3 separate regions of the Homo sapiens genome follow, and all the other regions are linked to region 1. The links are contacts of gene promoters, found by promoter capture Hi-C in blood cells and fetal thymus (Javierre and others, 2016). All regions are on one chromosome and are shown on one strand. The core of a region is centred on a gene start or on the middle of the fragment in contact, and the rest is flanking DNA. Distances in the headings are between cores, read along the strand shown. Region 1 holds the start of CAPRIN2 (caprin family member 2). Region 2 holds the start of IRAG2 (inositol 1,4,5-triphosphate receptor associated 2). Region 3 has its middle 3.2 kb from the start of KRAS.

Evidence for each region. Contacts are between HindIII fragments. The CHiCAGO score rates a contact against its expected background, and 5 or more counts as called.
Region 2: a contact is called between a fragment that was not itself captured here and the fragment with the promoter of CAPRIN2 in region 1, in 1 of 17 cell types (non-activated CD4 T cells). The highest score is 7.3, in non-activated CD4 T cells.
Region 3: a fragment that was not itself captured here is called in contact with the fragment with the promoter of CAPRIN2 in region 1 in 1 of 17 cell types (naive CD8 T cells); the score reaches 5.1 in naive CD8 T cells.

The regions. Positions count from the first base shown.
Region 1 is chr12:30,753,361-30,756,341 of GRCh38, reverse strand. It overlaps CAPRIN2 (caprin family member 2), which reads left to right and starts at 1,391. Exons shown (of 19, transcript NM_001385503.1): 1 at 1,391-1,591; 2 at 2,783-2,981. The coding sequence starts at 2,822. It overlaps LOC645485 (a long non-coding RNA gene), which reads right to left and starts at 1,268. Exons shown (of 2, transcript NR_135046.1): 1 at 1,071-1,268. RefSeq lists silencers at 1-66, 1,158-1,837 and enhancers at 1,765-1,934, 1,938-2,017. The HindIII fragment of the contact is 2,894 bases long and covers 1-2,374 here.
Region 2 is chr12:25,050,379-25,053,359 of GRCh38, reverse strand. It overlaps IRAG2 (inositol 1,4,5-triphosphate receptor associated 2), which reads right to left and starts at 654. Exons shown (of 22, transcript NM_001366544.2): 1 at 404-654. RefSeq lists enhancers at 780-1,149, 1,190-1,299. The HindIII fragment of the contact is 399 bases long and covers 1,311-1,709 here.
Region 3 is chr12:25,252,633-25,255,613 of GRCh38, reverse strand. No RefSeq gene overlaps it. Among named protein-coding and RNA genes, the nearest start is that of KRAS, 3.2 kb to the right of the region's middle. The HindIII fragment of the contact is 1,695 bases long and covers 546-2,240 here.

The DNA.
Region 1 (2,981 bases), core at 142-2,641:
TGATCCACCCCGCCTCGGCCTCCCAAAGTGCTGGGATCACAGGCTTGAGCCACTGCGCCGGCAGGGGGCAAACATTTCATGATTAATCTGACTGAAATACCATTTTTAGGTTCATCATTAGCTCGGACTACAACTCAGGCTGTGCTGTAACTTTGTGTCAACTCATTGATCCAACAGTGTGTCCTTCACATTTTTTCTTATGGCCACTGTTTTTTGTGTTACCAAAGGTGAAGGCATAGCCTTCCTCTCCTCATGTTCAGCATCTTCTGCGTTTCTCTGTTTATAAACAATGAGAAAAAGGGAAAATCTAGTATTTCTCTGACCCTGAAGAACACATATGGGATTCAGAGATTCAAAGTTAAAATGCAACATTAGGGTACATTATGTCACCAGGGACCGAAAAGAACACGGATAATAGATGCCAAAAAAATGTATTAAGTAATGTTAAAATTAATTTGTGTGAAGTTGACCAAGGCTTTTAAAACTAGACCTTTGTTTCCTTGATTCTTCTTCTGAATTTTCTGTTCTTTTGCTAGTCTCAATATTTTTTATCAGAGCGTCAGGGACAATCAGGACCTAAAAAACTCCACTTGGTGTAATAAGTAAACACATGTTGGGGCAAAGTATTGCTGAGTGTGTGTGTGTGTTTCTTATTTGGTATCAGAAACACCTTCCTTTCCTCAATAAACTTTTACATATTTCCAGACTTTTCTCTTAATTTTATGTAACCTTACAAAGATTTTTTACAGCTTTCTCTGCGTGCCAGTCAATTAATGTGTGTCACATGAACAAATAATACGGCTTGAATAAACTCAATCCTATTATTGCAGGTTGCGAAGTCACCTACTCCGTTTTTATGGCGATGCTGATTTGGGGCATTCTGCTCTTACAGGCTGATTCCCCGGTAAGGAAACGGTGTTTTTTCCCCATCCTACTATGAAAGATGCTATCTGAGGGGCAAAGGCGCATCTGCATTTCACGACTACCCACTAGGCTACGACAGCCTCAAGCATGGCTTATCTGGTAGTTCCGCGAAGGGCTCGCTGCCCTCCTGGAGCTATTGGAGTCACCTGTTCAAGGTCGCGAAACCACCGGTGCCGCCGGCAATCAGCGAGGTCCAGCGGGGCTGCGCGGTTTCCGGCCTGCCGGCGTTCGGCGTCGCCTCGGCCCCACCTGGTGCCCCGCAATCTGCGCAAAGGCTGGGAGACCGCGCCCTCTCCCGACCTACCACCAGCCCAAGCTGGGCCCGGAACTAACACCCGACAAGCGCTGGCGGCCAGCTGCAGCCGGGAAGGAGCACCGGAAGGAGGCGGTGGCGGGGCGGCCGAGGGCGGAGCGGGCCGGGGCGGGGCGCGGCCTACAAAAGCCACGCGCGGCGCGGTGGGCGGGCCTGGGCGCGAGCGGCTGAGTCGGCTGGGTCTCTGGCGCCGCAGAGGCCGCGGGCGAGGACCGGGAGGGGAGAGGGAGGAGACAGGAGGAGGAGACGCGAGTGCGGGGTGGCGCCGGTCCACCTCCGCAGCGCTCCTGCCTCCCCCAGGCTTTGGAAGGCGGGCCCGGGCTGCGGCAGCGGCGGCCTCGGCTGCCTGGGGAGGTGAAGTCGGGCTGCGGCGGCCTCGGTCGGCGCGGCGGAGGGAGGCGGCTGACCCGGCGAGGGTGGGCAGGTCTGGGCGGCCGGCGCCGCTGCGAGGTGGAGGGGCGGCTTGGCATCCCCGGGGCGGGGCGGGGCTCCCGAGGGCCGCGGTCGGTGCGTTTTCCGCAGGTCAGCCTCCCCCGGGGCCTTGCAGAAGCGGCTTCTGCGTACCCGGGGCGGCTGTGGGAAGGGTGGGGGTCGGTGCCTGCAGGGCTCTCCGTGGCCGCTCGGGAGAGGTGCTCTTCGCTCAGGCTCCCCCGGAGACTTGAGGGGGTGCGCGCTGGCGTGCATGGGGCCTGTTCTGTCCTTGGTTTGGGGATGCTCCTAAGGGGGGAGAAAGGGATACCTCGGGTGCTTGGAGGTCGAGAGACGGATACGTAAGTGCGCAAGGGCCACTGATTAGGGCACGGGAAGGGCTCGCTAGAATGAGCTCTTAAACTGGTTGGGTGTAAGCGGTTTTGGGCTAGTCTAAACCAAACAACTGAGAATAAACGCGGGGTTCCTGCAGGTTGAGAGAGTACCTGTCTGCAAATGTCCAGTAGTGATGGATTGCCTTGTAGGCCCCAGAGCAATCGGGGAAGTTAGCATTCTTGTTCAAGAAGCTGCTGGTTCACTTAGAGCTATAAAAGAATGTTGTGAGTTTGGATTTTCTTCCAAACGTTCAGGATTGAGGTTAGGGCTGGTGGTGAGGGATCATGTAAAGAGGTTTGAGTGGCTCAGCCTTAGGTCCCGGTGTGGAAAGCTTATTCTTTTGGTGTCATCACGTGGCCATGGGAATTATTTAGAATGTGATCTGCCCTCATGAGAAGAAAGGAGCTCTGAAGCCGTTGCAGTTCTTCCTCCCTATGTGGAAAATCGAATTTCTGGAAACATCCTCCGTATTGGGAGATTTTGCCTATGTAAAGGCTATCCTTATTGGCTAGCGGCACTAATTACTTTAAAAGTAGGATGGAAGTACAAGTATCTCAAGCATCATTGGGTTTCGAGCTCACTTCTGTGGAAAAGAGTTTAAGGGAGTGGTCTAGACTTTCCAGGGAAGTTATTGCCTGGCTGTGTCCCTCTAGTCCTAATTTTATACTTAACTTTCCCCCACCTCCTTCAGCCTCATCTGTTTCAATGGTGCAACTCTTTTCATCCCCTTTTGGTTACCAGTCACCTTCAGGCCATTCAGAGGAGGAAAGAGAGGGGAATATGAAGTCAGCCAAGCCCCAAGTGAACCACAGTCAGCATGGGGAAAGCCAGCGGGCCTTGAGCCCCCTGCAGTCTACTCTGAGTTCTGCTGCATCTCCTTCCCAAGCGTATGAGACCTATATTGAAAATGGACTCATATGCCTTAAACACAAAATTAGAA
Region 2 (2,981 bases), core at 261-2,760, 5.7 Mb after region 1:
AGGCCTTTTCTACCATATGAGAGGAAAAAAACTAGCTAATAAAATCAGAGTATAATATATAACAACTTGCAAGTTCAAATATACCATGCATACTAGATTTTTCTCCTTGTTTACTTTTAGAAATTTTGAGAAGTTTTAATTAATTTTAAAAGAAAAAAACAGCCACAGACAAAACCAGCTTATAATAAAAAGGCAAAAAGGGAAGTTAATGGTTAAACCCATGCATGCACCTAGCCACTCAGCAAACCTCTCTGAAAGCCCCACAATATTGCCTTCTCAAACCATTTCATTGTCATAAACTCAGGAATAATATCCTAGCTGTAATCTAGAAAAATGTCTGTAGTCCTATGCCCCGCCTGAGGGTGGACAAAAACTGGGTCATAAATGAATATTTGCTACTCACTCTTCAGTTTCCTTGTCTTCTGCTGAAGTGCCTGGCAAGTGTTCGATAATTCAGTATTTATAGTTTGAAGGTTCCGTTGTTCCGAAATTGCTTCCTCTAATTTATGCAGTAAAGACGTAGCTTTTTCACTGGCAGTGTGGGCTTCTCGATCTCGATCCTTACCCTGGACATGGATAGTTAGTGCTGGATTGTAGCAGTGTGGCCAGGAAAGAAAGCAATGGAGTGCTCACTCTTATGATGCAGGCAAAACTGAAAATGTGTTTTTCTTCTCAGGGAAGTGATAAGCCTCTCCTGAACTTCTGCAATTCTGTGTTTGCATGGGCTTGGTATGCCTGAGCTATTTCTACAGCGGTTAAAGTCCTGATATGTCAAGTTGCCTCTTTCTGCAGAGTCGCCTCTTTCATCAGCAGGCTGTTGATACCGCCTCTCTTACAACTCCCCCTTTACTTCCTCTGCTCACTGTTAGTCGCTAGGGACTGAACTTGCAGTTCCTCTTTGCTTTTTTTTTTTGTTTGTTGTTGTTGTTCCTCCTCCATTTTTATTTCATGGTTTGCAGGGCATCTGAGGAGATGTCCCCTGAATCTAATGTAGCCATGAGCCACCCTACCTGCTCCTCCACATCCTCCAGCCGTTGGCTGGTTTCTTGGAGCCTCTTCCTAAGGATGCCTTCCTGGTTGACAGCATCTTCCTGTAGTTGTTTAATGGCTTCTAGTTGTTTCTGACTGGAGTTAAAAAAAAAAAAAAAAAAAAAAGTCCAAACCGCAAGCTGTCAGTGACATTTCAACTAAGAGTCACCCTGTGAAATTATGACAAACTCAAACTTAACACCACTTCCTTAGAGATCAGAGGAAAAAGTGAAAGTATTTACATATAAATGCTTCACAAATATAAAATCTTAAGCAAAGCTTATTGGTCGCTTAGCCTGACACCCTCACTTTACAGATAAGGACTTCTAGTTTCATCTTTTACACTGGTGTGTTCAGTTCCCACCAGCTGCATTCATAGCACTTAGCATCAGTTGCCAGTTGCCAGTTACTCAGAAGATGGCTCTACAATGAGGTCAGGGTGACAGGTGCAACATTTACACATCACAGCTAGCTTTTACAGAAAAAGAAAGGAATGGGGTAAAGGTAGGGGGAGGGAAAAGAAAAGGAAAGAGAGCTTTGTTTCATGACCTTAGCCTTTCTCCTTAAGGGTTGTCAATCATAGTATAAACACGTGCCACGAGCACAGGAAGGACCGCCCCCAGGCACAGATGAAAGCTGGCGGTTGATATTTCTACTTTAGTCCTCTTTTTGCTGAAGCTTTTCTCCCCATCACCCTTCCCCACCACAGATCTCATGGTGCCATTACGTTACACCTCATTTGGATCCAATTCTAATCTCTAAAACATGTAAAAATGCACTTACTCTCTGTTAGCAGATGAGATTATTTAATGTGTGTTACATGCCAGTACCTCAATGATTATCTGGAAACAATCTGACTTGAATATGGACCTTAACTCAAAGTGGTGATAAATGTCGGGAGTTGCAAAACAGCAAGGAAGACATTGTCAGCCGTAGGCCTTGTGCATGCCTCTCAAACGTTAACATTTAGTCAGAATGCCACTGCACACTGGCACAAATCCAGCCCTGGTTACACGAAGGACCACATGAGAGGCAAGAATGGTCTCACAGAATGCTTACCATACTGGTAAACAAGCAAACAAAATCCTAAGCAAAAATAAAAACTGCCTACATCACCACACTTTCCACTGAGCGTCCTTCAATAGCTTATCGTTGTCTCTCTCACTCTCTTTTTCTCTCTTTTTCTTTAACTGTGGCAGGAACATTTAACAGGAGATTTACCCACTTAACAAATTTTTAAGTGTACAATACAGTATTATTAACTACAGGCATAATGTTGTACAGCAGATCTCTAGAACATCTTCATCTTGCATAACTGAAACTTTATACCTATTGAGTAGCAACTCCTCATTTCCCCTCCCCTAGCTCCTGGCAACCACTATTCTCTCTCTTTCTATTAGTTTAACTATTTTAGATACCTCAGAGAAGTGGGATCGTGCAGTATTTGTTGTTCTGTGACTCACTTATTTTACTTGGGATAGTGTCCTCCAGGTTTATCTATGTTGTCATATGTGGCAGAATTTCCTTCTTTTTAAAGGTTGGATAATATTCCCTTGTATTTATATACCAAATTTTCTTTATCCAATCATCCGTGGACATTCAGGTTGTTTCCAAATCTTGGCTATTGAGAATAATGCCGCAGTGAATATGGGAATGCAAATAGCTCTTCCAGGTGCTGATTTTAATTATTTTGGATAAATACCCAGAAGTGGGGTTCCTAGATCAGATGGTAGTTTAATTTTTAATATTTTGAGAAAACTCTGTAACTGTTTTTTTTTGTTTGTTTGTTTGTTTGTTTTTTTTGAGACGGAGTCTCGCTCTGTCTCCAGGCTGGAGTGCACTGGCGCGATCTCAGCTCACTGCAACCTTTGGCTCCCGGGTTGAAGCGATTCCCCTGCCTCAGCCTCCCGGGTAGCTGGGACTACAGGCACGCACCACCATGCCCGGCTAAT
Region 3 (2,981 bases), core at 144-2,643, 5.5 Mb after region 1:
TAAAGGTACTTATCATCTTTAGGTACTCATTAGGTACTTAGCTTGTAACTCTTTCCACTGTTCAAATATATACCCAGTATGCATGTAGCCTATATGGAGCAGGCACAGAGTAAATGTTTGATGATGATAAAAGACATGCGGAAGAAAGGTTAATTTGGCAACATCATAAAACTGAATTGAGACAAAGAAAGCCAGGAGGTAGGAAAGTCAATGAAGAAGTTATTCCAGAAATGTAGCTGAGAAGGAAGGAATACAGAAGAGGCAGATATGGGAAAATACTCAGGAAGTATAATTAAAAGGAGCTGTGACTAATTTTAATAAGGACTGGGTTAAAAATTAAGTTTTCATGTCTAAATGTTCTGGAGGACCATGATGTCACTCAGGTAAGATGGAGGAATTGAGAGAGGGAATTCGTTAGAGGGAATAACATGGGGAATTTGGCTTTGGACAGGCATTTGCCATGATAACAGAATATTCATTTAGAAATGGTCCAGGAAATTGGTTTGATGAGAATGAAGTGCCTGTGAAGAGAGAGGACTGAAGCTTGTTATAATTTCATTCACTTCAGGAATATTTACAGAGGACCCAAATGTGCTAAGAACTATGAAAACATAGAATTAAAAGAAATGGGCCTGGAATAATTTACAACCTAGTAAAGCAGTTATGGGAAAACATATTTGCAAAAAAGGTATACAAAGTATAATGAAATAAGTGTCCAGTAAGGATAAAGTGCAGAGTAAGTGAATTAAGCAGCACCCATTCATGTGTTCAAATTCCTGCCAGAGTCAAAAGGTTGTGCTGAAGTAGAGTCCATGAAAGCATCGTAGATGGCTCCTCCTGCTCAAGTTCCCCTGCTCTGCGTCCTGCTACTCTGGCCACAACCGTCTGGACCCAGGGTTGACACACAAACAAACACAATAATCTTTTAGCCAGACATAAAGAAGGCCAGCCACCAATCAGGAAAATTGTGTCCCATAAAGGCCCTTCCTATTGAACAGTGAATGACAGACATGGCCAGATCTTCTCTCTTGGAATGCTTTGAATGTTAGTCACAGAGAGTGACCACTAGAAGCACAGATAGCAGTAGAAGCTAAGACTACATGAAAAAGCAGTGGACAGATGGTGATTTATGAGAATGGCAAAATTACTAGAGTCATAGGCAATGGATACTTGTTAATGAAGGGATGAGCAGGGCCCCACAGCCTGTTGCTGGCTCACAAGTGCAGTTGATTGCTGGACTGAACAGCAGCTCTCCGCCTGATGATAGGGTTTTTTAAAGTGTCCTTATTGCCTTAAAGTAAATCCTCAGCATTTGCAGTGCTCTGAGGGTGTCCTAGCATTTTATACCTTTTTTCTAAGAGCCCAGGTAACATAAGGGTACTCCTGTTGTTCTGGCTTTAATTCTATCTGCAGAAGAGGGTTTCTTGTGAAAGAAAGGGTCAGTATGGTCTTTTATCTGTACAGCAGATAAAAAGGGTATGTACGTGCACACCTTTGTACGTGGCTGCCTTCCCAGGACAGTCTGACAGTAGAGGGTAGAAACTTCAGTTGTAGCTGAGAGCAGGCCTGGAATCCCCATGCTTATACTTTTTATTTCCTCCCCCCTTTCCCATTGTGATCACAGGCTACTTCAGTGTGCTTGTCCTTGGAGAGAGCAAGGGAAGGGAGAGCCAGGGAGACTGTTCAAGGGAGCCACCAGGCTCGAGAAAGAGGAACCCCTGAAGACAGTAGAAAGTGCAGGTGCCAAGAATTTGAATATCTACATCAGAGTTTCTCAATGTGCACACAGTGAACTACCAGTTTAGGATCATTTGATTTGCTAAAAATGAAGATTACTGGTCTACCTTAGACCAACTGAATAAAATATCTGGGTGAGGGGCCTAGGAACTTGCATTTTTGGTAGGCATGGCAGGTGATTCCTAAAGCATTTACCCTTGAGACCTCTATGTTAAGGAAAGAAAGGTAATGTTGCAAGGAGGTGGTGCCGGCTTCTAAGAAAGTACCCAGGACTGAACGGCAGAAAGACCTGACATACCATATGTATAAATTGCTGTGGAAGTGAAAAGGAAAGAGAAAGTGTCTGAGGTAAAACTGGAGTGTGGGGTGCGTGGAACAAATGGTTGGATGCAGATTTGCTTTACGAATCATGAGCCTAGATGATAACTGAGACCATGTGGATGGATTAGGTTTCTGCTAATGCCAGAATTTTTATAATCAGCATAAAAGTGCTATATAAAGCTTTCCCCTCTTCTATATTATAGTCCTTTTAAGATGTATGGAACATCAACTATAGGAAGAACATCATATTCACAGCTGTAAGAGGAAACAAGAACTTATCATGCACTTGATGTTGTACAAAATAAATCTGTGATTTATGCTTGAGTGACCACAAAGTAGCATACACATAAGCGCAAATTCATTCATTTAAGAATTCCTTGTGTCTATTATGTACGAGATAAGTATCTCTGAGCTGCACGGAATGTGGCTTATCAGAAGGTGACCTAAGTTTCAAAGCAGATTTTGTTAAGATGAAGACAGAGATTGACAGGAGGTTTAAGACACTCTGTCTAAAGTAAAGATTTAGAGTCACAGAGTTCATGGATTAGGATTTAGAATCCACAGAGGGTCCACAGATTCACTCATTCAACATTCCATAAATATTTATTGAATGCCTTTTTGTGTCAGAGACTGTCTTAGGTGCTGGAAATTTAGCAGTAAATGAAACAGACCAAAACCCATGCCCTCATGGAGCTTACATTCTGATGGTAGAGAGACAAGAAAACAAAATAGATAGTGTATTATTGAAGGTGATGAGAGCTCTGGAGAAAAAGTAGGAAAAGAGACAGATCTGGGACAAGGGCGAAATTACAGTATCAAAGATGATCTTTTTAGGGAAGATCTCCTTTTAAAAACACTTTGGAACAAAGATTTAAATGAGGTGCCAGAGGGGTAGCAAGTGCATATTCCCTGAGGAAGACGCC